5 separate regions of the Homo sapiens genome follow, and regions 1, 2, 4 and 5 are each linked to region 3. The links are contacts of gene promoters, found by promoter capture Hi-C in blood cells and fetal thymus (Javierre and others, 2016). All regions are on one chromosome and are shown on one strand. Each heading gives the region's core, a stretch centred on a gene start or on the middle of the fragment in contact. The rest is flanking DNA. Distances are from core to core; before and after follow the strand shown.

Region 1 (5,643 bases), core at 2,308-4,807, 1.1 Mb after region 3:
GTCTCAGGGGCAGAACACCCGTAAGGGCAAGCATCCTCTCCCACTTCCGAGCAGTCTCAGAAGGGGCCATGACCCAACCGCAGGCGGCGAGGCACACGCTTCAGCCCGAATTGCGTTGAATTATTTCCTGGCAGATTAGAGAGGCGCGGAGAAAATGAAGGAAAAAAAAATTATTGTTTCTTTTAGAAAAATGGGCTTCCAGAAAAAAAGTGTTCTCTTTTCAAGCAGTATTAAAAAGTAATGTTCCTCATCTCTCCAGCCAGACTTCAGTAGTTCTGAACTATTGCCCATCATTATGGTTTAAAAAAAAAAAAGTCATTCTCAAACGGCAATATTCACCAATAGACTATTTACCATTAAAATGGATGAAAGAAAGGGTGTGGGGGGGGGATATAAAGATACTTGTGTTTGCTAATATTTATAAAAAGAAACACTAAATGGATAAACCAAAAACAAATTAGAAAACTTGTATAGGAGAAGGAACATCGTGGAGGAGACAAGAATGGAAAACTGAGTCCTCTCTTGATGTGCCTCCTGTAGTTTTGGCTCTGGAATAACACTATATTAATAATATTAACAAATTAAATTTTTAAAAAACCAGGATGATGGAACAGCATGCCTATAGTCCCAGCTACTTGGCAGGCTGAGGTGGGAAAATTGCTTAGCCCCAAGAGTTTGAGGCCAGCTTGGGCAACATAGCGAGACCCCATCTCTTAAAAAGACATAAAAATAAAAATAAAATTTGAAAATACATAAAATAGTCTGGGCACGGTGGCTCACACCTGTATTCCTAGCACTTTGGGAAGTCAAGGCAGGAGGATGTCTTGAAACTAGGAGTTCAAAGCTGCAGTGAGCTATGATTGCACCCCTGCATTCTAGCCTGAGCAACAGACCTAGTCCCTGACTATAAATGAATAAATTATTTTTAAATTGTAAAAGAAAACCCTAACAATTGAAAATTAATGGAAACAAATCAACCTAATGGACTATCCCACTTATAGCATAAGAACACAGAAAAAAATAATTCTCTCTTAAGTTGACATAGAACACAATATTATGACTGTACATCAACAGTTGTACATATTCCCAGAGCAAATAAAACTGCAAAGAAACCTTACATTTCATTCAGTAGTATTATTGTTATTAATAATATTCATATTTCTTAAATTCTTATATCCACTACAGGATAAAGCAAATAAATAAGTATGCTAACATCAAATGGAGCCAAGATGTTTTCAGTGTAATAGAAAATATGTGTATAACCAAAGTAATTAAGTTTTCTTTAAAATATTACAATTATATATTTATATGGGAAACACTAGTATGAACTCATTTTTTTTTCTTTTCAAAAAAATACATACATTCATTGAATAGGTTTAGAAGTAAGGACAACTCAGCAGCAATGAACACCCACAGCACCCAGGTTATGGTCTCTAAAAACCATTCCCCACTCAAAGGAACTAAGGCTCCTTTGAGGAGTGACTGATTCCAGGTTTGGGACAGAAAAAGTACAAGATGACCCTGAAACATTTTGATGAGCTCAAAAAGAAAGGAAATGTTTCACAATTAATGGGGTCAAGTCAAAAAGACACAAGAGTCACATAAATAGGCTCCTTCCTATTGGCCAAAGATGAAACAATTTGAACTTGAAAAACAATGGCTGAGCCTGGACAACATGGCAAACCCCCATCTCTACAAAAAAAAAAAAAAAGCTACAAAAATTAGCTGGGCATGATGGCACACACCTGTAGGCCCAGCTACTCAGGAGGCTGAGGTGGGAGGATCACCTGAGGCCAGGGAGGTCAAGGCTGCAATGAGCCATTATCGCACCACTGTACTCCAGCCTGGGTGATGGTGAGACCCTGCCTCAGAAGTAAAAACAAAAACAAAAAGCAATTAATTGCTGGGTCAGGTGCTGTGGCTCAGGTCTGTAATCCCAGTGCTTTGGGAGGCCAAGGTGGGACAATCACTTGAGGCCAGTAGTTCAAGACTAGTCTGGGCAAAATAGCAAGACCCTGTTTCTGCAAAAATAAAATAACTTAGCCAGGTGTGGTAGTGTATGCCTGTAGTCCTAGCTACTTGAGAGGCTGAGGCAGGAGGATCACTTGAACCCAGGAATTCAAGGTTACAGTGAGCTATGATTGGCCACTGCACTCCAGCCTGGGTGAGAGAGCAAGACCCTGTATCAAAAGAAAAAAAAATGGCTGCTATTGATTGAAAAAATATTGAATATTTTTAAATGCCTTCATAAAGATAGCCTAAACAAGCCAGAAAAAGAAGGCATTCCTATGACGCTTCCCAGAATTTGAGGACAATGTCAGAAATGGTGCAACCCTAAGAATGAGCTGTAAAAGAATCTATTAAAAATGAGATGAGCCATCTGCAAAAGTAAAGCAGGCTAATAAAGGACATGCAAGCTATTCAGTTGTAGCTGCCTGGCAGAGGTAAAGATGCTTTCAAAAGGGCAGTACTCTTTGAAAAGGCATCACTTTAGAAAATGAAGTCACTGTTTAAGCTGGTCATGACTAATTGCTTGGCTTAAATTTCCCAACCTTTTGCTGCGAGCTCCGGTACAGAAATTTATCCTCCATCAACCATCAACTTTTTACAGTTTTGGTACATGTTTGTATCCTTCAGCTTTGTATTAATTTTAATAAGACACTCATTGGCTGTTGCAGCCTATCTCAGTTGTACTGAGAGCCATAGGAAGAGGTCTGATGCTTCCCTTTGACCAGTTTTTTAGAGGGCACAGTATACCCTGGGGCTGAAGATGGTGATGAACACCCGAAGTCAAAGAGAGGGAACTGGCAGGAGAGGGAAAATCCAGCAGGACAAGTTGGTAACTGCATGCACAGTCTCGTCTTCCAGACCTCTCATATGCTCAAATCTTAGAGGGTTTTGTGTTCTATTTTAACAAGAGAGGCTATTCATGCTCGGTTTCCATCACTAGGCAAGCCAAGAGGACAAGCAATCAGCTCTGTTCTACAACACTGTCTCTGGAGTGGAGAGGAGGACGTCCTGCCCCTGGGGCTGTGACATATGCCACTCAGACCATCCAACTCCCTTTGGCTCTGACGTCATGCTCACCAAGCAAACTTTGGATTGTCATTTGATTTCCCATATAGACTCTGCTGCAGCACAGAGAATATACTGACCAGTTAATAGCAGTCAATACCCCTGAGTTCACTTACCAGTCAGTAACCTGAAGACACCAAATTTCCAGACTGCCAAAGCTGACATCTAGACTCTAGGCTGTCAACTCACCCATGTGTCATGACTGATAAAAAGACCTCTCTTTAGATTCTTCTTTACTTGTAATACTTTTCTTTACTAGTAGTGACAGAAGCTTGTTTGCTTGCAAAAGGAACATTCAATTTCACCTCTTTTAGATCTATTACGAGGAAAATCTAACTCTGTTTTTAAAATAAAATTTAAGAGTTTCTGCTATGATGGCAATAAACAGCAAAGGAATTAGATAATATTATTTTGTTTACATTGGAGAGGAAAGTCAGGACTGCCAACTTTTATAGCAAACAGATAATTACATGAGCACTAAAACACAATACTCTAAAAGCAGCGATGGCCCAAGCCTAGTATTATGTTGATTGTGTGACTCACAGTTTTTTATTTCATGTCTGGAATATTGTTTTACAAACGTGAAAGATGTCATCTAAAGTCAACTTACAGAGAACTCAAGCCAGCATGGACTTTGCCTGAGAATCTCAGGAGCCAGGCCAATTTACCATTATTCTTTACTAATCAAGCTTTACCAATCAAATAATAGTGAATTCACATTTGGGCAAATTATACACTGCCACAGTCTACAATGGTTATGACTTATGCTGAATTTAGGGGAAGGAAGGCTTAATGAACACTTCACATTGGATGAGATAATGTTATTTGGATTGCTAAAGAAAATGAAGGCTTTGAGGAAATGCCCCGAATGTCACAGAGCTAATAACCTGAGGACATCCCCCACAGATGTGAGCTCCCAGGCTGAAACAAAAAAAAGTATGGACCATTCGGCATACCCTGCATCTTCAGGCCTACATGCTGGGAATGAGGTTTCCTTGAGAGCGAACTTTTCCTTTAATGGGAGAAGGGGGAAGAAGTCAGTAAGAAAAGAAAGCCCAACACAAGGAATAAAAACTATGTCCCAAGGGGCTTCCAGAAGGGGAAGTGGGTCTGAGACCTGTGATTTCCTAATGCTGCTATTTTTTTTGTTTAACAGTAAAGTCTTAAAATAAAAAGGGCCTACGTGCTTATCTTCAGGGACTGACAATTACCAAGAGAAAAGGCCCTGGAAGCCTGCTATGAGGAGAGAGAGACCACAGGGAGCCAGCCTGCTCTGGGGAAGTGGGCCTGGAACTCATCTGTACAGCTGCGGAGTTCCCTGGCAGGTGCTGATATGCACACAAGCTGAGCATCAGAGATCTCATCAGACCACCAGATCTAGTGCTGTCTCCCATTCGGCAGGAGATGGGGACATTTTGCACCTGTGATAATAAAAAGAATGGAGGTCTGGTGGCATAAAAGCCACTCTTCCTCCTCTCTCCTCATCCCACAATTTTTGAACATGTGTAAACAGCTCCTGAATAGTGAAGTGGCGTCTGCTAACCAGACAAGATCTGTGGCCTTTTCTACAAGAAGTTAACACTTTCCTCAGACCTACTAAAGTAGGGACTTAACAAGTAGTTCCTTCAAGGCCGAGTGCAGTGGCTCATGCCTATAATCTCAGCACTTCGGGAGACTGACCAGCCTGGCCAACATGGTGAAACCCCATCTCTACTAAAAATACAAAAATTAGCTGGGTGTGGTGGCGCACACCTGTAATCCCAGCTACTTGGGAGGCTGAGGCAGGAGAATCGCTTGAACCTGGGAGGCGGAGCTTGCAGTGAGCCGAGATCATGCCACTGCACTGGCAGCCTGGGTGACAGAGCGAGACTCCATTTCAAAAAAAAAAAAAAAAAAAAAAAAAAAGTAGTTCCTTCAATTCATTATCCAAGACAGAGTCCACAGACTATGAGCATTGTAACAGTTTCCCCCTCATGACAGAGATGAAGGGGCAGGGCAGCAGGAGGAAATTGAGGGGGAAGAAAAAAACTACAATTATTTGACAGATCACATTACCTACATGGGACATTTTCTATTTATATGATTTTCTTTTCTTAGTCATAAAAATAACTTCTCTATTTAAATACAGGCATCCTTTAAGACAATCAGGTGTAGCTTTTGTATTTTGTTAATTTTTGAGAAAGGACTCTATCAAGCATGGAACAGAGAGGCTTTAAAATTCCAACACCAAATCACACTCAGAATGTCATACAGAAATGTACTTAAAACTCTGCTGCCAGATCCATGTAACCTTAGATGCATAACTAACCAAAGATTTTAGATCTCATCGTATTCTTCTTGTCGTGGTATTTCCTGTTAAGTATTTTCTTGCTTCAAAATGACCGAAACTGACTCACTACTACTTGAGCTAGATTGATATTGACCATATAAAGACACCTTTATATTTCTTTTATTCATTCACTTATTCATGAAAAAAATCATTAATCAGATGCTGTGGGAAAGGCACGGTACTAAGAACTATGAGAGAGAAAATTATGAACACAGTACATACGCTACCCTCAAAGAGTT
Region 2 (5,321 bases), core at 1,005-3,504, 1.0 Mb after region 3:
TAAATACGCAGCTATATGCAGTGCTATGAGAACACACACAAGCCGCAGAAGGAACCATGACGGGGCCTGGGAAGACTGTGCAAGGCTTTGGAGAGAGGTCATATTTCAGTCAGACCTTGAAGGATGAGCAAAGTAGGGATGGTCATTCTAAGTCCACCACCCTACCTCTTGAGTATCAAATTTACTTCTTATTAAAAAGAAGAAAAAAAAACTTCCTTCCCAGCATATTGTTTGTCTATCTGTCTAGTATGAATATAGTTACAATAATTTTCTCTGTAACACACAAGCATTTAATGGTTGTGTTTGTATGATCAATGAAACAGTTAATCAATGTATATGACCAGCATTAAGCTGATTTTGCTAACAACCTATTAAAATGGAGAAAATAGAAGATCAAAATAAATAGTTAATAGAAAATCAATTCCAACCAGACTCCCAGTAAGGAAATGTCCTGCTTAACTAAACATGTGGCCAGCACTGAGCTAGGCACGGAAACATTCTTATAAAAGTCCCCAGCCCCTGCCCTCTTCCACACTCACACCCTGACATGTATCCAGCCTTTGTCATCATCTGCACGGGGCTGCTGCCTGTCAACTGAGTGTTGATATGTTCTCTTTGGTGACATTGTGAAATATTGACTCACATCTGATGTTCCCACTCACTTTCTAGATTCTTGGCTCCAAGACAGAACAGTCAATTGAATTCCAGATGGCAGGATGCACGTATCATCAAACGGAGGAACAATCCTCTGTTGAGAGATGATGTTTCTTTCTCCACAGGTGACCTAGGAAAGCAAGGGCATGCTTGTGTGTGGACACTCACTCATACCATGTGTGCTCGGGTTGTGTGCACAGGCTACCAAAAGCCCTTTGCATACTAAGTTCTTGGTTTATCCACAGAGCATTTTGCTGACCTCTCTCCAGAAAAACAAACAAACAAACAAACAAACAAACAAAAAAACAGCTCCTTAACCTTATTAAACCAAACACTTAAATTCTGAAGCGGCCCAGGAGAATAAGAAGAAACCACTAGAACCCACATTGCTGCACTCTCCTCAGAATGTGATATGTTGGTTAAAACACACACACACACTGACACATATAATGAAAGTGGCCAAAAAAAAATCAAGATATGCTAGAAGAGAATTATCTTGAATTAAGGGAGGACCAAAGTCTACAGATAGAAAGAGCTCAAGAAGTATCAGGAAAGCACAACAATGCAAATGACTCAACATCAGAGGACTGTGCACTTAAAAATGGTTAAAATGGGCCTAGTGCAGTGGCTCACACCTGTAATCCCAACATTTTGGGAGGCCGAGGCAAGAGGATTGTTTGAGCTCAGGAGTTTGAGACCAGCCTGGGCAACACAGTGAGACCTCATCTCTACAAAAATCAAAATATTAGCCAGGCATGGTGGCATGTGCCTGTAGTCCCAGCAACTTGAGAGGCTGAAGCAGGAGGATTGTTTGAGCCCAGGAGTTCAAGATTGCAGTGAGCTATGATCACATCACTGCACTCCAGCCCGGGTTGACGGAGCTAGAACCTGTTTTTTAAAAAAAGCCCTTGGCAAGATGCACTAGTAAGACTCTCTCCACTTTAACTAGTAAGACTCTCTCCACTTTATCCTATACCCTACCACCAGAGATGGAGAAAGAGTTCTTCTAAGGTATAAGGCAGACTCTTAATGCCACACAATACTACAGGATATGTGCAGCAGTTATCCCCACCCAATTCCTGGTCCTTTTTCATCCTAAAGCCTCATCTCGCCCCTGAACTTTGCCTTGTCCTTTAACTCCATCCACCTCTCATTACTTTCTTTAGATGAGCCCAAGGATGATGCTGATTTGTAGGTATCAGGGACAGGGGTGAGTCTGAGGGATGGAGTGGGGTGAAGAAAATAGGGCAGTGACATTCCAGAAGTCTCTAGAGGAGGGATAGGAATCCAGGTGGGGATCTAGTTGAAACTGAGGAACTTGTATTATATATTTATTTGGGGTAACACTGGGGTGGGTTGACGGAGATTAGGGAACTTGTGATAAAGTTGCCTACCAAGCACTTTTTTTTTACTTTGAATATTTATTTGAAATGGTGTGGGTTAGGGTTGATGAAACTGTGGAGAGTTTTATTTTATCAAGCTGGTTCAGCCCATGTTAGCTTCCTGTTGACTCCTAGGTCTCTCATCACTCAGTTCAGGCATTACTTTATTTAGTTAGTTAGTTAGCTAGTTAGTTAGTTAGTTGGTTATTTTGACATGGAGTCTCACTCTGTCTCCCAGGCTGGAGTGCAGTGGCATGATCTCTGCTCACTGCAACCTCCAGGCACTACTTTCTCTTGAGGTTTTTCCCTGACTCCAAGTCTCAATCACATGCCCCTCTTCTGGACTCTTATAACACTTCAGGTATACCTTGACCTAAGAACTTATTACACTCTACTCTTGCTTTCCTTGTCTACCCTGACACTAGACTGCAGCTCCTTCAGGACAAGGAATGTCTCTCATTCTGCATCCTGAGCACCAAGCACTGTGTCTGGTAAGTGACAAGGGCCAATAGTTCTTTTTAAACAAATAATAGGATAAATGAGCAAAGAATTCATACTATAGGTAATTCACCTCAAAAACATGAGAGGTTACAGAGCGATAATTAGTCTGCTATTCCACACCTCCAGAAACCCTGATGATTAAACCAGAAGAAACAGACTTTTTATATAGTAAGTTACAGCAAACCCACATGTGAATCAGTCATTGAATGAATTAATGAAGTGACAAGTTAATCTAAAACAAGTCTCGGGCAAAATATGAGACAAAACAAAGCAAAATACATGACTTTAACTCCCTAGAGCTGAAGGCACATACCAGGCAGCAACATCATAGTCTTGAAATCTAAGATTCAACTGGGATTTGCCAGTCCCAGTTGAATAATAGTGGTTCCAAGAACAGACTGTGGAAGCATCTGATGTTCCTCTCCATGGACCCCAGAATATCCTTTTCTTTCTCATGTTTACTCCAGGGCAGCAACAGAGCCACTGTTACTTTTTGTCACTTGTAACCAAATTGAATTCTAATGTATACAGCTTCCTAAAGGAAATTAGTCTTGAACAATGAGCAGGAGTTAACCAAGCACAGAAAAGTAGATAGGGTGTTATAGAAGAGTAAACGAGTTAAGCACAGGTTTGGAGGTGTGACTCTGCACGGTAAGTACATGGAACCATGGATGTGGAGAAGTCCAATATCTGCTGCAAGGCACAGAGAAGCTGGACACAAGCCTGGAAAACATGGGGAAAACTAAGTCTGAGATAACATTGTATGCCACACAAGGGAGCCTGAATTTTATCTTGATTAGGATGGGAAGCCATACACAGTTTTTAGACAGGGAATGATAGACTCAGATTTGCATTTAGAAAGATCACTCTGGAAATAAAGAAGGGAGTGAAAGGCAGCAAGCTGGAGTCAGGTAAGTGACTGATGCAATAGTCCAGACAGAGAGGGCCCTGAAACTTACCTGCACCCTTGGAGCCACATAAAATAAAAATAAGCCTACCCCTAGAAGTCAGAGACAGCAAGGAATCTTGTACTGAGTTATTGTGAAGAATTCATATGCCAGCTCCAGTCCTTTATTTGGACTGAAAAGGATAGAATATAAAGAATAGTGTGTCTTAGAACTGTCTGGTCCAGTTGGCCCCAGCCATCAGACCTGCCTCTGACTCATGAAGCCATCACCCAACAAAAATAATTAATTTCTAGACCTTTTTCTCATTCTAGACCTGTGTCCAGAATCATTTCAACCTGGATCTGCCTTGTCCTTGGTTCTAAGGCCCTTGATGTGGTCTGACAGTCAGCACTCTAAACTCACGCCCAATTCTCTGATACTTACCAGCCATTGCCCCATTTCTTTGTTTTCCTTTGCAAAAAAACCTCTCCCAAAACTTTTAAGTACTAGTTGTCTGCAATCTCCCTTTCCTTCCATTCTGTCTTAAGTCCACCCAACACATACACTGAAACTGTTTTTCTCAAGGTCATAAATGACACGCATGATGATAAATACAATGAATAATTCTCAGTTATCAACCAATTTGACTTAGCAGCATTTTTTTTTCTGGAGACATCATCTCACTATGGTGCCCAGGTTGGCCTTGAACTCTGGGGCTCAAGTGATCCTCCTGCCTCAGCCTCCCCAGTAGCTGGGACTACAGGCACCTGATGCCATGCCCCTAATCAGCAGCATTTGACACACCTCCTTGTTGATAAACTTTCTTCACTTGCCTTCCAGGATCCACAACTTTTAGTTTCCTCGTATTTGCCTGATTACTCTTCTGTCTCCTTTGCTGGTTCCTCCTCTTCCTCTCTACCTCTTAAATATTGCAGTGTCCCAGGCTCTGTCCTTGGTCTTCTCCATCTACACAAGGGTTTCTCAACTTTGACACTACTGACTTTTTGGCCAGATAATTCTTTGTTGTTGGGGGCTGTGCTAGGCATTATAGGATAGATATATATATAGTAGCATCCCTGCTCTCTGTCCACTAGGTACCAGTAGCAACCACTCCCCACAACCAAAAATGTTTCTAGACATTGTCAAATATCCCCAGGGAAGCACCTCTGGTTGAGAACAAATGCTCTAGGTCTATAGGAAATTCTCTTTACTATAAGTGTCTTAGACCTTAGTGATCTCTTCCAGTCTGAGGTTTTAAATACTATCTATATGCCAATGATTCCCAGTTTTACATATCCAGTCCAGACCTCTCTCTTGAACTTCAAATGGACTAAAATGTTCAAATTCCCATTCAAACATTTTGCTTCAATATCTAGTGGACATCCCAAACTCCCTATGCAATCTTCCCCATCTCAGCTGAAGGTAACACCACTCTTCCAGTTGCTCAAACTAAAAGTCTTGGAATAATCCCTGACTTCTCTTTCTTTCACATCCTGCATCCTGCCAAGAAATCCTATTAACTCTACCTTGAAAACACATCCAGAATCTGACCACTTCTTACCACTACTACTACCCTGATCCAAGTCATCATGATCTCACACCTGGGTCGTCGCAGCAGCCTCCTAACTGGTCTCTCCTGATATATCTTTGTGCCTCCACTGTCTACTCTCTGCAAAACAACCAGAATGAGCCCTTTAAAATATGCCAGATAATTCCACTTCTTGCTCAAAACACTCTGTCTTCTTAACTTATTCAGAGAAAACTCAAACTCCACACAAGTCTCTGCAAGTCTCTTGTCACTTTTCTGACCTAATAAACTGCTACGCTTAGTTATCATCAACTGAGATGAAAAAGCTGAGGGGGGCAGGTTTGGAAGGAAGATCAGGAGTTCATATTT
Region 3 (5,898 bases), core at 905-3,404:
AATTAAATTCTGGCATACAAGCCAACTAGCTTGAAAGAAACTTAACTGTTTGATTCACTTTGTTTTTAGCCTATATATCACAAAACTGAGGAGTGAAGGTACCTAATTTGTTAATATTTTATTTTTTTAAAACACCTTCACTGAGACATAATTTACATACCACATAATTCACTCATTTAAAGTATATTTTAGTATATTCAGAGGGTTGTGCAACCATCACCACAGTCTAATTTAGAACACTTTCATCTCCTCTAAAAGAAATCTTGTACCCATTAGTGGTTACTCCCCACTACCCTCCACGTCCCTAGCCACCTCCCATGCCTAAGTGACCATGAATCTACTTTCTGTCTCTATGAATTTACCTATCCTGACATTTCATGTAAGTGGAATCATACTATATATGTAGAGTCTTTTGTGTGTGGCTTCTTTCACTGGCCTAGGGTTTTCTAGGGTCATCCATGTGGTAGCATCAGCAGTTCATTCCTTTTCATGCTAAATAATTTTCCCTTGTATGGGTATACCACATTTTACCTATCCATTCATTAGTTGGTGGACATCTGGGGTGTTTCCACCCTTTGGCTATTATGAATAATGCTACTATGAACATTTATATACACGTTTTCGTGCGAACATGTTTTCATTCTTGGGTATGTACCTGGGAGTGGAATCGCTGGTTCATATTGTAATTCTTTGTTTCACTTTTTGAGGAGCTGCCAGACAGCTTTCTAAAGCAGCTGTACCATTTTGCAGTCCGTCCCACCAGCAATGAATCTGGAGTTCCAATTGCTCCGTATACATGCCAATGCTTGTTATTGCCTGTCTTTTTGCTTGTAGACATCCAAGTGGATGTGAAGTTAAACATCATTGCTGTTTCAATTTGAACTTCTCTCACAACTAATGATGTTGAGCATCTTTTCATGTGCTTATTGGCCATTTATATGTCTCCTGGGAAGAAATGTTTATTTAAATCCTTTGCCCATTTAAAAAAAATTTGCTATCTCTTCATAACAAAGTTGTAAGAGTTCTTTTAATGTTTTGCATTCAAGTCCCTTATGATTTGCAAATAATTCTGTGAGTTTGTTCAGTTTCTTCGTGGTATCATGGGAAGAATATTGTGTTATATTGTGTTATATCTGTATCTATTGTATGTGTAGAGCAAAACTCTCCTCTTTTGAGTGAAACATCCGAGGGAATGTTTTTCTGCCTGCCTAACTTTCCAATCGAGTATTAGAGAATACTTCTTATTTCTTTGGCATTATAAAAGATGGATTTGAAGCCTGAGCTTTTCGATGGATTATTTGCTTCCAGTCCTCACTCTCATGTCTGAATATAGGCATGTATTATTCTATCTACACATCGCTGAGATTTGTGAGTACACCTGAGGTACTCTGATGTGGATAGCGACATGCTTTCTTGCACCAGTTCTCCCAAATAACAGCACTTAGGATACGTTCACTATTCACTAGCCCCTGTTCATTCATTCTGAGAGCCCCTTCCTCTCAGAGTTCCTCTCAGTGGTACAGTGGTTTATTGCTGGTACATTAAAAATTCCATATAAAAATCATTAGAGCTTTTTTTTTTTAGATGGACAGAATAAAAATAAAATAAATGGCAAGGTACTTTTGCTCAAAGGAAAAGACGTTCTTCCATTTGACTTTAAATCACAGTAAAGATGACGTCATCACAAAAGCCCAAGTTTTGAGATGATGTTTTCTCCAGGGAAAATCGAACCAAGAACGATGAGGACTTCTTGCCTCTTAGGACACAAAAGCGTGGGCTAATAGAGGATTCATTTCCAAAGGGTCATTTGGAAGAAGAGAGCACTCATCTTCCTCCCATTTTTCCCTGTTGATTACACCTGTACACATGTTTACTCCCAAACCGTTTCAAATCCACATACATTCTTGCAGGCTGACTGGTTCCTACTGCTCAGAAATCCCCCTCCTTTTTTGGCAGAGGCTCCCGCATTCATGTGACTCCTGCACACTGCAGCTCAATGAAATCCTCTGAAAGAGCTGCCAGCTCACCCAATTTTCCATGAATTAGGTCCTGACACTTCAATGAGGGGAAAGACAATGTCTGAATCTCTGCCAGCCCTGGCTCCCGGCCTAGTCCGTGTCACGGAACTTCTACCAGCTACCCTCAGACACAGCACTTCATACTTTTCAGACCACCAAACAAACAGACCCTTGAATACTTTCAATGTTGGTTGGGGTTATGGCTGCCAGGATGTTTTCCCAGCCTCTGGCACCCAATGGCTCCAGACTGTGCCGAGAAAGTTTTTGTTGTTGTTATTTTGTTTTGTTTTTATTTTTATGAATGGCTTTGGTAGAAAACGCAGACTGAAGCATAATACTACCACCATTCATAAAAAGGGAAAGGAAACAAACTGCTGTCTGGAAAGCTTTTTGGACGCCAAACAAACTGTAAGTCTCTTATCTTCCTTGGGGCATCTCTCGGCTCAGAACTAAGTGTTGATTCTTAGAAACCAGTTGCTCCTCGGGGTTCTTGGCATTAAAAACACGACTGGCCACTAGAGTTTTATAAGACCTGAATAACATCAATGATACATATTAGTCTTCTGTGTTGTTAACAGTAAATTTTCATGCACCTTAATAAATGAGTAATATTTTGCACATGCATTTCCTATATGAAAGCTAGAATCCTTTATATTTTTAACATCTGCCCCTTTGTTACTGGGAGGGTCCAGGCCTTACTGTTTTCATTTTCTCACAGGGAAACCAAGGCATAGGGAATTTAAATAATCGTCTGAGATCTTTTTCTAAAACCAAAACAACCCGAGTCTACTGATTCTCTTAATCCCTGATATAATGCTCTGAAGAAACCCAGTCTGTTCCTTGAAAAAAAGAAAAAAGAAAAAAGTCAAATCGAGATCCAATCCAGGAGAAGCTGTACTTCCCGGCTTTGATTTTCATCTCCAGATTGTTCAGCAGGGCCTAGTTCTGATTCCTCCAGGTTGCTGATGAAAAGTGAATCGCAGGGGACAAGAGTCAGACCTGCAAAGTCCAGCTGCCTCACCTCACTTGGAGATTCTTCCTTCATTATCAGTTGTGGAGGGGCTGAGTCCCTCTTAAAGGTGTGTACATCATAATGACTGTTCAGTGAACAGATAGCAAAGCCTTTCAAGTTGTTTAGACAAATCTGATGATCCAATTCTAAGTGTGCACATAGGGAGTTTATACAGTTTAGGCACTTGGTCAACTTGGCATGCAAACCCTTCAATGCACTGAGATTTTGAGTTCATTATGTTGAGACTATTGCACCTTTCAAAAAGCTTGTAATGAAAATCCTCATTCCATGGTTGCATTGAAACTTCTAAAATACAATGGGGTGAAAGAGAGCTTCCTCCCAGAACAAAACATCAATAGCAGCATTGACAAAATCACCAAAGGACTTTGAAGAAATTTTTTGGATTAACAGATGTTAAAACGAAACTGTGGCCGGGTGTGGTGGCTCATGCCGGTAATCTCAGCACTTTGAGAGGATTGTTTGAGCTCACGAGTTCGAGACCAGCTTGGGCAACCTAGCAAGACTTCATCTCTATTAAAAATAATTAGCCAGGTATAGTGGCGCATGCCTGTACTCCCAGCTACTCGGGAGACTGAGGTGGGAGGATTGCTTGAGCCTAGGAGGTTATGGCTGCAGTAAGCTATGATCACACCATTGCACTCCCGCCTGGGTGACGGAGCAAGACTCTGCCTCAAAAAAAAAAAAAAGTGGTGAGAATTCAAAGACCCCATGAGTTGAACATACCACGTGAAGCTTAAAAGGGCTCTTTCTAACCACATGGATTTCAGTGAGTAGTTCTCTGCAGTCTAGCCCTTAGAATGGACTAGCTCAGCCACAATTGAAAGTATAATGCTTAAGCAAATAAATATCATTGTTAAAGTATATACAAATAGCTTAGGGTACAACATGCTAAGAAACTGTAGAAGATAAGCAAAAGGAAAGGACATATTTTTGGATTTCTGAGGTCATACAGCAAATGAACATTTCTCCAAATGGAAGAAAAAAAGTTACTGAATTTTTAAAATCCACAGAGTATTTGGATTTTTAAGATTTTGTAGAGAGACACTTGTGTAGGAAATGGTCTGCCATTCCACCTATTTCAGAATAATTAAGAAGTTCCTCAGCCCTCCTAAGAATACAATCTATGGTTCCAGGAAGTCTAGGTATTTTAAAGCTGATACTCAGACAGCTAAGCCACTCCTTCTGGTAGGTATTGAAAGAAAATCCTTGCTAACAAAGGACCCAGACATTAGTAGTTCATTTTAGTACTAATCTAAACATTAAATAAAAAGAGGCTTGAATTGAGCTTACAAACTTAATTTTTAAAAAAAAATTAGGCACAATGTATGGTAAAGCAAACATGATTATTATGTAAAGGGTCTCAAGTTGACCTTAGAAAGAAAGAAGCCCTTCACATGGCTGTCTGTGCAGATGAGTCTCTGGGTTTAATGTAAGCAGCAGAATTTTAATATAATTAGATCCTTTGCTTCTTGCCAGGCAGTAGTAGGTGATTTTGCCCACTTTGTTTTAAAATCATATGATTTTGTTTTAAAATCATATGACCATTGTTCAACCAATAGGTACTTCTGTGCCATAGCATAATCTTTTTTCATGTAGATTGTTTTCCATTCTCATAGCAATATAGTATAAGACAGATCTTCTAGCTATTTACTAATAAAGAATGTAAAAACCCTAATTTCTATAAAAATTCCTCAATGAGAGTTACATTTTGGGGGCCTTTCACACCTCACAAAATAGCATCTCACAGGATCATCTGTTATTTAAAATTTTAAGTTAAATATGGTGTCATATTAAAAATGTTTACGCAAAAGATATTTGTTTTTCAACTTCCAAAAGAGTCCTTTAGATGTAAGCCAGCTCATTGAACTAGTGAGGTTTATGATCATGTTTGTATCCACACAAGTGTAGCCAGTTTTATCTGCCTGAACTGACAGATGAATATATCCCTACCATATAGACAACATTTCAATAAATACATAGACCTATTACTTAATCACTTCACTGATTTCTAGACAAAATTGACCGGTTATTTATAGAAAAAATGTTCCAAAATATTGAATAAGTAGACACAGCTCAAATTCTAGACAAGTAATCATCCAATCTCTCTGCAAACACTCCAAATGGCCATGAACCATCAAGGCCAGCAGCAGCCTCGACTTGTGTGGTTGGGCACATTGATGGGAGTGGCTTTTGACTTGTGGTGTGAACAATATCCTTCTTCACCCTTTGTCCAAAGTTATTTAAAGGTTCAAAACACAACCTTTCTCTCTGTATAGAACATTCACCGAGATCCACTTTCATTTATGTGCTGTGAAATATGCTCTTATCCTCAGAAATTTCACAGTGCTGTCCTGAATATATTTTCTTTGAATTTGACATTTACCTGGCTGAAGGAGGATGACCATTATCAAGAATTTGCCTTTCACGAAATTATGTGATCGACATACTTGTTCATGGCCCTCCGGATTTAGTTTTAAAACTTCAATATTCCAGAATGTCAAGATTTGTGTTTGGGTCACTTTTCAAAAAATGAACTTCAGGCTTTGGAGGCTTTGAATCATTTTTTTTTTTTTTAAAGCATAAGAACCTCCCCCACACCTTTTATGTTAGATCTTATGTGGAACCCTACAACAGAAAGCAGACAAAATGGTATTTCTGAGACTCATTCACGTGGCCTCCACTCCAATCCATCTCTGCCCTCCCAGGATGCCCCTGAGGCCCCTCAACGAAAAACTGGAGCTCCAGGGGAGGTTAAGTAAAAAAAAAAAAATCTTAGGGCTAAGCATGTTGGCACATGCTTTTAGTCCCAGCTACTTGGGAGACTGAGGCAAGAGGACTCGAGTCCAG
Region 4 (5,533 bases), core at 741-3,240, 1.0 Mb after region 3:
TTGTTTTTTTGTTTTTTTTGGCTGCCTTCTTTTTCTCTCTTTGACTTTCAGGAGCCCACTTGGATCTCTTCCAAGGGATCTTTCTTTCTTCTCTTATTAAGGCAGGTGAGGATGTCATTTGATATGAGCTTTTCATTCATTTGTTAATTTCACAAATATAGAGCTCCTCTCCACACAAGATAGCATGGTGAGATGAGTAAAACAGAGTCCTTGACTTAAAGATACATACAAATCCCCATACCTTTTCGTTCACATTCTCAGGATAATTGCTTAGTTTCCTCAATGTGAGTGACTAATTACAGAAAGGGACATGAGGCCAGGCACCATGGCTCACACCTATAATCCCAGCACTTTGGGAGGCCAAGGTGGGTGGATCACCTAAGGTCAGGAGTTCGAGACCAGACTGGGCAACATGGTGAAACCCGGCTCTACTAAAAATACAATAGCCAGGTGAGGTGGTGGGCACCTGTAATCCTAGCTACTTGGGAGGCTGAGGCACTAGAATTGTTTAAACCCAGGTGGCAGGGGTTGTGGTGAGCTGAGATCACGCCACTGCCCTCCAGCCTGGGCAACAAAGTGAAACTCCATCTCAGAGAAAAAAAAAAGGAAAGAAAACAACATAATAATCTGACATTTTCTGTTCACAGAGAATCATGGGAACCATTATAACAAAGAAGTCAAGAGTGTTGGTGTGGAGTGGACCTTGGTTTGAATACTCAGCTCTGCCACTTACTAGCTGTAGGCTCATATGCAAGTTACTATCCTCATCTGTTAAAAAGGAATAATATCTAATGTTATATAAAATGTAAAAGTTATTTCACACAATGCCATTCACATAGTAAATGTTCAATAAAAGCAAAAACCTCAGGACATATATAAGTGGCAATGTGAAATTAATACAGCAGAAGCTCAGTTCACACAGATGTTAATCCTTAAACAAGCCTTGCATTGTATGAGTATCCCACAAAAGGAGTAAGGGAAGAAGATCTTACATCACTGGAGTGAGTGACTACCATGGACCAGCCACCGTTACTCACTTTACTTCATTTAACCCGCACAATAGCCTCATGAGGTAGATATCATCACCATTTTGCAGATGAGAAAGCTGAAGCTAAGCAAAGTTGACCTGACCAAAATCACATAGCAATTAAGATAGGAGTCCAGCTTCGTCTCATTCCAATATGAGTGCGTTTTCCTCTTTTCCATTGGCTCTCAAAGTTTGGTCTTAAAGGAGCTGTATCAGCATCACCTGGGAACTTATTAGAACTGCACCTTCTCAGCCCTACCCCAAACCCACTGGGTCAGAAACTCTGGGGTTGGGGCCTAGCCATCTGTGTTTCACACTCAGACTGACACACGATCATTTCTGATAACCACTGCTCTATGACATGCGTTTCCTCTTCAGTTAGGATCCGACTCCTTATTTTGTATTTAACAAGGAGTATGAAACAAAGCCCGGGCTCTGAATTTGTATTCCTCAGCAATAATGTGTCAAGTAATCTTAAACAAGCAAACCCCTGGCCCATTCCAGCCCATAGTGCATGTGCGGAAGAAAAGTAGAAATTAATATTGGGGCCATTTTGCATATTCCTAAACCCGTAAGCTAGTCTCTTTGGAGAACGTTAAAGCTTTGCTATTGTCACAACTAGTGGTGTCACTTCCCACCATTCCTGTTAGTCTTGGGCAACATGATATATTTATTAAGCTCCTACTATGTGCCACTGGGAGAAGAGTGAAGAACAAAATCAGCAAAGCCTCCCCTCAGGGAGCATATGATCCGATCTTTCCCAGCAGTGGACTCTTGTTGGTCATTCCTAGAATCCCAAGACCCTTCTCTTTTATCGTTCCCCCCACCAAACCTATCTACATTTAGAATGGGAATAACTATAACTTCTAGGCAAGTAACTGTAACTCCTAACTGAGATCATTTACTCAAACTCCCCTGGATCACACATAGCCTGTCCACCCAATGTAGTATAGCTGACTCCTCTGGTCTGAATGTGCCCCCTCAAAATTCACATATTGAAACCCTGACCCCCAAGTCGACAGTAATTAGGAGGTGAGGATTTGGGGAGGTGACTGTGACTCATGCCCTTATAAAAGACGCCCCAGAGAGACCCCTCACCCCTTCCACCGTGTGAGCACACAGCAAAAACTACCTTGTATGAACCAGAAAGTAAGTCCTCACTAGACAATGAATCTGCCAGCACCTTGATCTTCCACTCCCCAGCCTCCAGAACTGTGGGAAACAAGTTTATAAACCACCCAGTTTATGATACGTTGTTATAGCAGCCTGAACAGACTAAGACACTGACCAAATGATAAGGATCAGAGAAAAGCCAATCAAGCTTGGAGAAACCATTTTCCAAGCACCCACTGTACCAGCAGCCCAAGAATCATTCAGAATTGTCCTGGCCATTACGCTGTGTGCCCATGGATCTCAGCATGAGTCTGAAGAATCAGCTCTGCCAAGCCAGGACCCAGACCCTCCAGCATTTTAGTCCAATGTTCTCTGCACTCCCCGGGTGATGGTGTGATGCTGGAGTTACCACAAGTCATCAGCCTCACTAGCCAAAGGGCAAATACCCTGAATTTGCTCTTTATTGACTATATGAGAACCACATTGCTTCACACTGAAAACAAGTACTATTTGAAGTATAAAAGGACTCCTAATCTATATTCCACCTGCCGCTAGCTCTGTCTTTGAAAGCCATTGCCTTCACTGAATGATTCCAGCTGGTGCTCTCCTCTGTGCTGGCTTTTATGGGCTATAAGGATGGATACACAAGGTGTAGGTCAGTTTTTTAGGGAATGTAGAAGCCTTGCCCTCTCAACTCAACACATGCTTCTCTTTTCTTCTTCCCTCTATCCTGGAATTAATGGGGATAAATGTTGCTAAAGCATCTAGTTAAATGTTCTTAGATAATTCTGGTCTGTACACTGATTGACCAGAAAACAGAAATGACTTCATCTGAAAGAAAACTAATATATGTGGGAAAGAGGAGTGATCGGCTGTAATATTTATGTTTTCCTGTCTCTTGTGTGAATTCACAGGCAACTTCCAGAATAAAATCCTCACATGTTTTTTCCATCAATTGAAGAATTTGAATCTCTCTTATTGGCAGAGTTTTTCCTTCTTTAAATTTCCCTCCCACCTCACAATGTGCCTGCTACAAGTTTGCGTCATAAATCCCAGTATAAAATTCCCTGTTGCTTAACTTGCCCATAAATGTGGAGCATGTAGTCATGTTATATGATTCCTGGCCTGAACATAAATTTCCTGTAGTCTAGAGGTGCCTTAAGAAGGAGCTAATATGTTCACCTGCTTGTTTTCCAGGCAATAAACCCACAACAGGTGAAATGGGGAGGAAATTTAAATAAGATCAAAAGGTAGGTTCAAAAGAATGGACAAAGCCATCTGGAATGCCTCAGTGCTGCCAATCTCAAATATAAGACCCGGTGGAATTTTAAGTAGAATTTCTAGTTTTCCCTTCTTTTCGACCAACTAAATGTCAAAAAACAAGAGAAAACTAGAAATCCCACTTAAAATTCCACTGGGAATTTAAGGAGGATGCTCATTTTTTTCCAGAGGTTGGGTAAGATAAGAGCAAGTAAAAAGTACTGATTTCTTCTAAGTTCATTGTCAACAACCTCTTTCTCCTCTTCATCCCCCTGGCCTCCACTCTTGTTGCTTGAATATGTGTTTAGCTTCCTCTAGCATTTTACCTTGCAGAATGAGCTTGGGGCATTTGGAAGTTATTTGCTGAGTTATACGGGGAGATTTTTACTTTGGATTTCAAATTACTCTGCAGATGACAACCCTGTATTGCTGAAAAGAATTTTCTGAACAAGAAATAACTGTTCCACTATGCAGCCATAAAAATTAAAAATTAAAAAGTTAAAAAGAAATAACTATTCCAGTAGGAGTGTAAATTGATACAGCTTTTAATATAATTTGGTAATATGTATCAAAATCCTTGAAATTATGACCATTACTTGACCCAGTAATTCCACTTATATGAATTCATCCTTAAAAATTATTGTACAAAGACAAGAACAGATATGAACAAGGATATTCATTGCAGCATTGTTTAGTACAGGAGAAGTTTGAAACAACCTAAATGTCTAGAAATAAATGATTGGTTAAATAAATTCTGCTATATCCATAATGAGAACTATTATGCAGTCATTAAAATGATGACAGAGATTACAGGTTTGGATAAGGATGAATGTCTATCTTATGGTAGCCATTTATGCCTCGTCTTCCACTATTGGAATGCTAAGCATGTGGGAGTTATTTATATCCTACTGCTCAAGTTCATCACCAAGGTCTGATTGCAAAAATTCAAAAATTTGCAACCTCAGGCATAAACGGGTTAATAAGTGAAAAAAGCAAGCTACTAAACAAGTTGTATAGCTATTATCTCTCTAAAAATTATATATATATATGCACATAAGATTTATGAAATGTCTCCTATGAAATTCTTTTTAACAGACCACACACTGAAGTTCAATAAGTACACATTAAGAATTTGTCATGCTAAAATACGATTATGTTTTGTCCTACAATTATAGTGAAGTAAAATCCACAAGTATTTCCCATTAAGATTTGAGCCTTCAAAGCCTCTCCCATGTTGGGCTCATTATGCTCATGCTATTTTTGGGTCAACATGACATGCCTCCCTCTTCCATTTTGAATGTTTTTCATTGAAAAAAAAAAAACAGGTTTTATTTGTGGCAGTTTTTAGGAACTCTGACATAAATAAGAACACACACATCCAGGACAGCTATTTACACACAGTGTCAGAAAATATTTCATTGTAGTGGCTTCTCTTGAATAGAGGCCAAAGCCTGAGTTGGAATTGGCTAAAAAGAAAAAAAAAGCCTTACAAGTAAGTTTCTCTAAAACAGATTTAGTACACATTTCTGTGCAAGAGCTTTAAACACATTTCCATTCTAATTAAAAATATAATTGGCAACATACATCTTTAAGCTATGAATATTTTGGTAGAGGAAATTCAAAGGCCAGCAATTATATACATCTCTAAAAAGCTTAATTATTCACTAAAGGAGAAAAACAAGTTTTTAAACAAACAAAAAGAGCTGTAATATTAACTGTTGACATTTAATTCTCCAACTTTGGTGACTTACCATTATAAATGATGCTGTAAGCTGAAATCAAAGACAAAACTCCTACTCTAGCCACTAGTGTAACCCTCAACTCTGGCTGCCCCACCTTGTCCAGTGACCACTCACTAGTGATTCTGACTTTATATGTCTGGAGTGGAACCCACACATCAGGATTTTTTCAAAGCTTCCTAGGGGCTCTAATACATAACCATAATTTAGAAGTCCTGTACCTTTATAACTGATAACCCTTGATTAGCAATTACTCCAACACCCAGAATGAATGAAGTGCTACAAGATTTAAATAGTCTTAAAACATCACTTAATCCAACCCTTATTTTGCAGTGGAAGACACTCAGGTCTGGCAACTTCCTTTATTATTTTCTTATTTTAGCGATAAAAAGAG
Region 5 (5,690 bases), core at 2,213-4,712, 1.1 Mb after region 3:
TAGCTATACATGCAACAAAAATCTTTACACTTTTCACCATCTGTTAAATTCTGTTGCATAGACATTTGTGGAGTTCATCACATACGTTATATGTAGCTCAACCTTCCCCAGACCTTAGCAACTTCTTGGTCCAGATAGGGTCCCTGCAGCAACAATGACTCAACACCGTTCTCACAGACATATTTTGAAACAGGGCCTATAAAGTCCTCCCATCCCCTTAACTGGGCAAGGTTTTCTTTTTATATGTATATATATATATTTTTTTTTATTATACTTTAAGTTCTAGGGTACATGTGCACAACGTGCAGGTTTGTTACATATGTATACATGTGCCATGTTGGTGTGCTGCACCCATTAACTCGTCATTTATATTAGGTATATCTCCTAATGCTATCCGGTTTTCTTGAAATCTTCAGGGGGTGCCTCTCATGTGTTCCCAAACAAGTATGCTCCCAGCAGGCACTCCCACGGCTCTGCTGAACACTGCAGGTCCCGTGAGACCCACTTTCTCACCCAGCCCTGCTGCTTCCCCGCAGACGCCATTAGAGATGCCCTAGAGCCCCCCCCCCCCCCCGCCCCCGACCCCCCGTGAGAAAGCTGCCGCTCACCTGGGGGAGATGGAGCGAATGCCACGCTCTGTTTCCATTGCGTTCTGTCAGACAAATCCCACAAATATGCTGCTTGGGCTCCCAGATTTTATGGAACTTGGTGACACAGCTCTTCTTGTTTTGCTCACAGTCACTCTGCCCTCAACAGGACTCCTCCGGGAATGCAGATGGAACCGGAATGGTAGACAAAACTGGGGAAAGACAATCACCTCTCCTTCTGTGATGAGAATATAAGACCAAAGAAGACTCAAAGGGCTTGAGGAAAGAACCATCTTCAGAAAACAAGAACCATGTTCCTTGACTCTGTCACCTCTCTACACCACCTATTATTATCATGGGAAGACGGAGCCAAAACTGAGAGAGCAGTTTAGGAGAGGTTTGAGTCACTGGAAAGTAAAAAATAATCCTGACTACTGTTCACTGATACAGCCACCATTTTGCCCTTATAATCTGTAATCTTCACAACACCTCTGTTTCAGTTAAGAGTTTTTCAACATGAGTGGTAGAAAATCTGACCAAACTGGCTAAACCCCAAAATTGGAATGTTAGCTGATATAGTAAATAAGCTGAGACAAATTGGCTTTGGGCGTGGCCTGATCCAGAGCTCACAGGCCCTGAAAGCAGCCTGCTTTCTCTCTGTTTCTCAGCTCTGCTTGCTGAGTGTTAACTCTTCTCCAACAAGCTCTCCCCTCATGGTTACAAGAGAGCTGCCAGCAACAACTCCTGGGCTTTTTCCTTCCAGGTTAAATTCTGTTGCATATTCATTTATGGAGTTAATCACATAAGCTATATGTAACCCAATTTTCCCCAAACTTTAGCAACTTAGGACCAAATCCAGTAGAAATGAGTGAGTCTGCTTACGTGAGAGTTCAAAACAAGAGCCTAGGAATTGAGCTTCTTTTCCTGTGGCTCATCCATGGGTCAGACACCATGGTGAGGAGGAGGAAGAGTGCTGAGTGTCTGAGCTCAGGCCCTGTGCTCCCTCCAGGGCCATCACTGTCACCGGAAGTACATGGGCAGAGGTGGAGGAGGGCTGGCTCCCCAAGCAAAATTAAGGCAATGTTGCCAAAGCATAGTAAATTCTGGGCAGCAAAGACGGCAATTGTCCACAACAAACCCTATGAGATTGAAATTATTCTCATTGTACAGATGTGGAAATTGAAGGTCTCAGATGTTAAGTAACTTGCCCCAAATCATATAGTGGCATAGATTGGATTTTACCTCATTAATGTGTGCGATGAGACCAAAAGGATAGGTAGGTATCTGCCAGGCAGACTGAAGCAAGGAGGGTGCTCGAAGCAAGGATTTATGAATACACAGCAGTATGAGGGCATTAGCGGAGTGGGGGGCCTTCAGGGAACTTGGAGTTATGGGCAAAGTTATAAGACAGTGTAGCAAAGGAAAAGCTCAGGCTCTGGTGTCAGATAGATCCAGATGTTATTTGCCAGCTAAATAGGTTGCAGTGAGCAGGTTGCAGTGAGCTGAGATTGCGCTACTGCACTCCAGCCTGGGCGACAGAGCAAGACCCTGTCTCAAAAACAAAAAAAAATTACTAAGGGAGGTTTGTTTGTTTTTTTGCTTTGTTTCACATTTTAATATAGATTTCTGGACTCTCCAGGGATAGAGAGATTCCTAGGTTGAGGTATCAGGAAGTTTCCTCCCAGAAAACTGTTGATCACATAGGGGAATTCATCCACCTCCTTCCAACTGGCCAAGGATGTAACTGCTCACTTCACCTTCATCATCTGTAATACAGTGCCAGTAAGCTTCACAGAGCTCTTGGGAGGAATAAGTGAGATAGCACAAAGGAGCTAGTATAGTGCTGAGCTCAAGGAGCTCCACCAATGGTTGATATTATGGTGCTGGTGAGGATAGGTTGCACGAGGTAATGAATGGGGAAGCTGTGGGAAAATAAGACGGAAAATTAACCATGGGTCAAATCATGCTAAGATAAGGATTTTAGCTTTTACCCTCCAGAAATTGAAGAAAGATTTTGACCAGAGGGATGGCCCAATTAGTTTTTCATTTTAGAAAGATCATTCTGGCAGCAGTGTATAGCCAAGCAGCAGAGAGGTGGGGTGGGCAGGGGGAGGGTCCAAAATGGATGGCAGTGAGACCAGTTAGGAGACCATTACAATACAGTCATGTGCCACACCACGTTTCAGTCAACGATGGACCTCATGTGCTATGGTGGTCCTGTGTGATTGTAATACTGTATTTTTACTGTACCTTTTCTAATATGTTTAGATACACAATTACCATTGTGTTACAACTGACTGCAGTGTTCGGCACAGTAACTTGCTATACAGGTTTGTAGCCTAGGAGCAATAGGCTACACCATATAGCCCAGGTGTGTAGTAGGCTATACCATCTAGGTTTGTGTGAGCACACTCCGTGATATTCGCACAATGTTGAAATTACCTAACAATTTCCCCATCGTTACCCCCGTCATCAGGTGATATATGGCTATAGTTAACTTGTTCAGTGGTTGCTAAACTTAGTTCAACGTTCAAATTACTAAGGAAGGCCAGGCACAGTGGCTCACATCTGTAATCCTAGCACTTTGGGAGGCCAAGGTGGGCGGATTGCTTGAGGCCAGGAGTTCAAGACCAGCCTGGTGGACATGATGAAACCCCATCTCTACTAAAAATAGAAAAATTAGCCGGGAATAGTGGTGCACACTTGGTAGTCCCAGCTACTTGGGAGACTGAGGCAGGAGAATCACTTGAACATGGGAGGCGGAGGCTGCAGTGAGCCAAGATTGTGCCACTGCACCCCAGCCTCGACAACAGAGTGAGACCCTGTCTCAAAAAGAAAACAATTACTAAGGAGGTTTTTTTTTATTTTTTGCTTTGTTTCATGTTTTAATATAGATTCCTGGACTCTCCAGGGATAGGGAGATTCCTAGGCTGAGGTATCAGGAAGTTTCTTCCCAGAAAACTGTTGGTCCCATAGGAGAATTGATCCACCTCCTTCCCAGTGATCAGCATTGCCTAAAGGAAAACTAGAATTGTTATAGCAAGGATGTAAACACTAAGAAACAAGTGAACTTTCTGGTTTTTTAATGTTAAAACAACAACAACTCTTGAAGCCCCTGGGGCACAGGTTGGTGTAGCTAGATAAAGATTGCCTGGGATGGAAGGGATGGAGAGAATGGAATCAAGTGACACTTTGCAGGTCATTTGGTCTCACCAGAGCAAACGACCAGGAAGGAAGCAACCTTCAACGTGATGGTATTTGAAGGCGGGGCCATTGGGAGGTAATTAGGTTTAGATGACACCAGGAGGATGGGACCCTCATGATGAGGTTAGTGCCCTTATCAGAAGAGGAAGAGACCAAAACATACTCCCTTTCTCCATTGTGTGAGGACACAGTGAGAAGGTAGCCATCTGCAAACCAGGAAGAGGGCCCTTCCTCACCAGATACCAAATTTGCAGACACGTTGATCTTTGACTTCTCAGCCTCCAGAACTGTGAGAAAGAAATGTCTGTGTTTAAGCCACCTCAGTCTATGGTACTTTGTTACAGCAGCCTGAACTGAGTCAGACATTCAGCATTGGGAGATGGCCAGCAGGGAACGGCATGAAAGCTGACCCAATACCTACAGTACCAGTCCCCATTCAGGTGAGCACTGGCTGCCTTTGTGGAAGAACCACTCCAACAGTTCTGCCTTCAGCCACTGTCCAGCAAAGGCCTCCCATCCATCACTGTATCCTGGTGGCTCTATGACTGTAGACTTGCTGACTTTACTCTGAGCTGCCTGATGTGGATAACAGATAACTCCCACTTCAATGGTCCAAATACTCACCGGCCTTCACATTTCCATCCTGGGGATGAATCATAATTCATCCAAACATCTCCCCTATTCCCAGATGTTTATATTGTTTTCAGGTTTCCATTAGTACATTTAATACTTCAATGAACATTTGCACATAAAGCTTTTACTGCATAACTTCCAACTCTAAAATATCTGGTATTCTTTGACAAAACCTAGTAATGGCTATTTCTTTGAGTTCAGGATACCAAGTCTCAAGTACTATTCCCTTCTCAAAAGATACAATTAAAGTTCTTTTTATGAAATTCAATACCTGTTGATGAAGAAAACTCTTAGCAAGCAAAGAATAAAAGGGAATTTTCTTAACCTAATAATAGGCACCTACCAGAAACCTCAACATCTTACTTAATGCTTCTTTTAAAAGTCAGGAATGAGGTATGGGTGTTATGAGTGTTCATTATCACTGCTTCTAAAACACTTCTGTTGGCACTTCCACACTAGAAGTCATAGAAAGGAAAAAAAAGGAAAGAGACTGCTGCCTCTTCCAGGATGTAGAGAAGCAGGCATTCTCATTCACTACTTGTATAACTCCAACCTTTAAGAATGGCAATTTGGAGATATATGTATCTTAAAAATGGACATATTTCCTGACCCTTCAACTCCACTTCTATACGCATATCCTAAGAAAATAATTCGGGCTATGTACATACATGTAACAGGATACTGTCTCTACTACTATCTAATCAGAAACCTCCTATTTGACAAGGTACTGGTTATGTGAATTCTGGCATGAACACATTAGGGAATATTAGTCACTAAAAATCATATTGTATAAGAGCATTTACCAGAAAGACAGCTTAAACTACCATGTTCAACATAACTTTTTTGTAGATAATGGCGTGTACACACATACACAAACGTACTGGAAAGATCTATATCTATATCAGAGTATTGATGATTCTTTATGCTCTTTTTGTTTTCCCAATTTTCTAAAACCTGTGACTTTTCTAATTAGGAAAAATAATATATTTTAAATGCTGCAGACAGCAAAGAAAGTGGCTCAGAAACGATGTAAAGAGAGTTTTTATATGGGGAGATGGCAGCAACTATACATCTATTCATACAGAATCCTTAATGCCATGCAGCTAAACTATATTTATTGTTCATTTTATTAAGACAAAAATAAATAGTAGATCTAAAGGTTAATTTTAGGTAAACTCTCTAGGTAAACTCTGTGCTTACTCATATTCAGGAACCAGCGAGTCTGCAAATGCTGGGCAGGTCACAGGCCACCCTGCAACCCAGCGA

Evidence for each region. The method cuts DNA at HindIII sites, captures the fragments that hold promoters and counts their contacts. A CHiCAGO score of 5 or more calls a contact.
Region 1: a contact is called between a fragment that was not itself captured here and the fragment with the promoter of HMGA2-AS2 in region 3, in 1 of 17 cell types (naive CD8 T cells). The highest score is 5.7, in naive CD8 T cells.
Region 2: a fragment that was not itself captured here is called in contact with the fragment with the promoter of HMGA2-AS2 in region 3 in 7 of 17 cell types (activated CD4 T cells, total CD4 T cells, total B cells and 4 more); the score reaches 14.3 in activated CD4 T cells.
Region 4: a contact is called between a fragment that was not itself captured here and the fragment with the promoter of HMGA2-AS2 in region 3, in 2 of 17 cell types (non-activated CD4 T cells and total CD4 T cells). The highest score is 5.4, in non-activated CD4 T cells.
Region 5: a contact is called between a fragment that was not itself captured here and the fragment with the promoter of HMGA2-AS2 in region 3, in 8 of 17 cell types (total CD4 T cells, non-activated CD4 T cells, naive CD8 T cells and 5 more). The highest score is 11.3, in total CD4 T cells.

What each region holds. Positions count from the first base shown.
Region 1 is chr12:64,818,744-64,824,386 of GRCh38, reverse strand. It overlaps a transcript of TBC1D30 not described here. Among named protein-coding and RNA genes, the nearest start is that of TBC1D30, 3.1 kb to the left of the region's middle. The HindIII fragment of the contact is 418 bases long and covers 3,349-3,766 here.
Region 2 is chr12:64,896,040-64,901,360 of GRCh38, reverse strand. LINC02389 (long intergenic non-protein coding RNA 2389) reads right to left here. Exons shown (of 3, transcript NR_033988.1): 2 at 663-784. Among named protein-coding and RNA genes, the nearest start is that of LINC02389, 15 kb to the right of the region's middle. The HindIII fragment of the contact is 7,998 bases long and covers 1-5,321 here.
Region 3 is chr12:65,944,963-65,950,860 of GRCh38, reverse strand. HMGA2-AS2 (HMGA2 antisense RNA 2) reads left to right here and starts at 2,154. Exons shown (of 4, transcript NR_199060.1): 1 at 2,154-2,426; 2 at 2,737-3,097. The region is part of intron 3 of HMGA2 (high mobility group AT-hook 2); the gene reads right to left. The HindIII fragment of the contact is 7,270 bases long and covers 1-2,406 here.
Region 4 is chr12:64,916,185-64,921,717 of GRCh38, reverse strand. The region is part of intron 2 of LINC02389 (long intergenic non-protein coding RNA 2389); the gene reads right to left. LINC02231 (long intergenic non-protein coding RNA 2231) reads left to right here. Exons shown (of 4, transcript NR_146276.1): 4 at 648-873. Among named protein-coding and RNA genes, the nearest start is that of LINC02389, 35 kb to the right of the region's middle. The HindIII fragment of the contact is 720 bases long and covers 1,631-2,350 here.
Region 5 is chr12:64,878,784-64,884,473 of GRCh38, reverse strand. TBC1D30 (TBC1 domain family member 30) reads right to left here. Exons shown (of 12, transcript NM_015279.2): 12 at 3,441-5,690. It overlaps LINC02389 (long intergenic non-protein coding RNA 2389), which reads right to left and starts at 700. Exons shown (of 3, transcript NR_033988.1): 1 at 609-700. The HindIII fragment of the contact is 2,171 bases long and covers 2,377-4,547 here.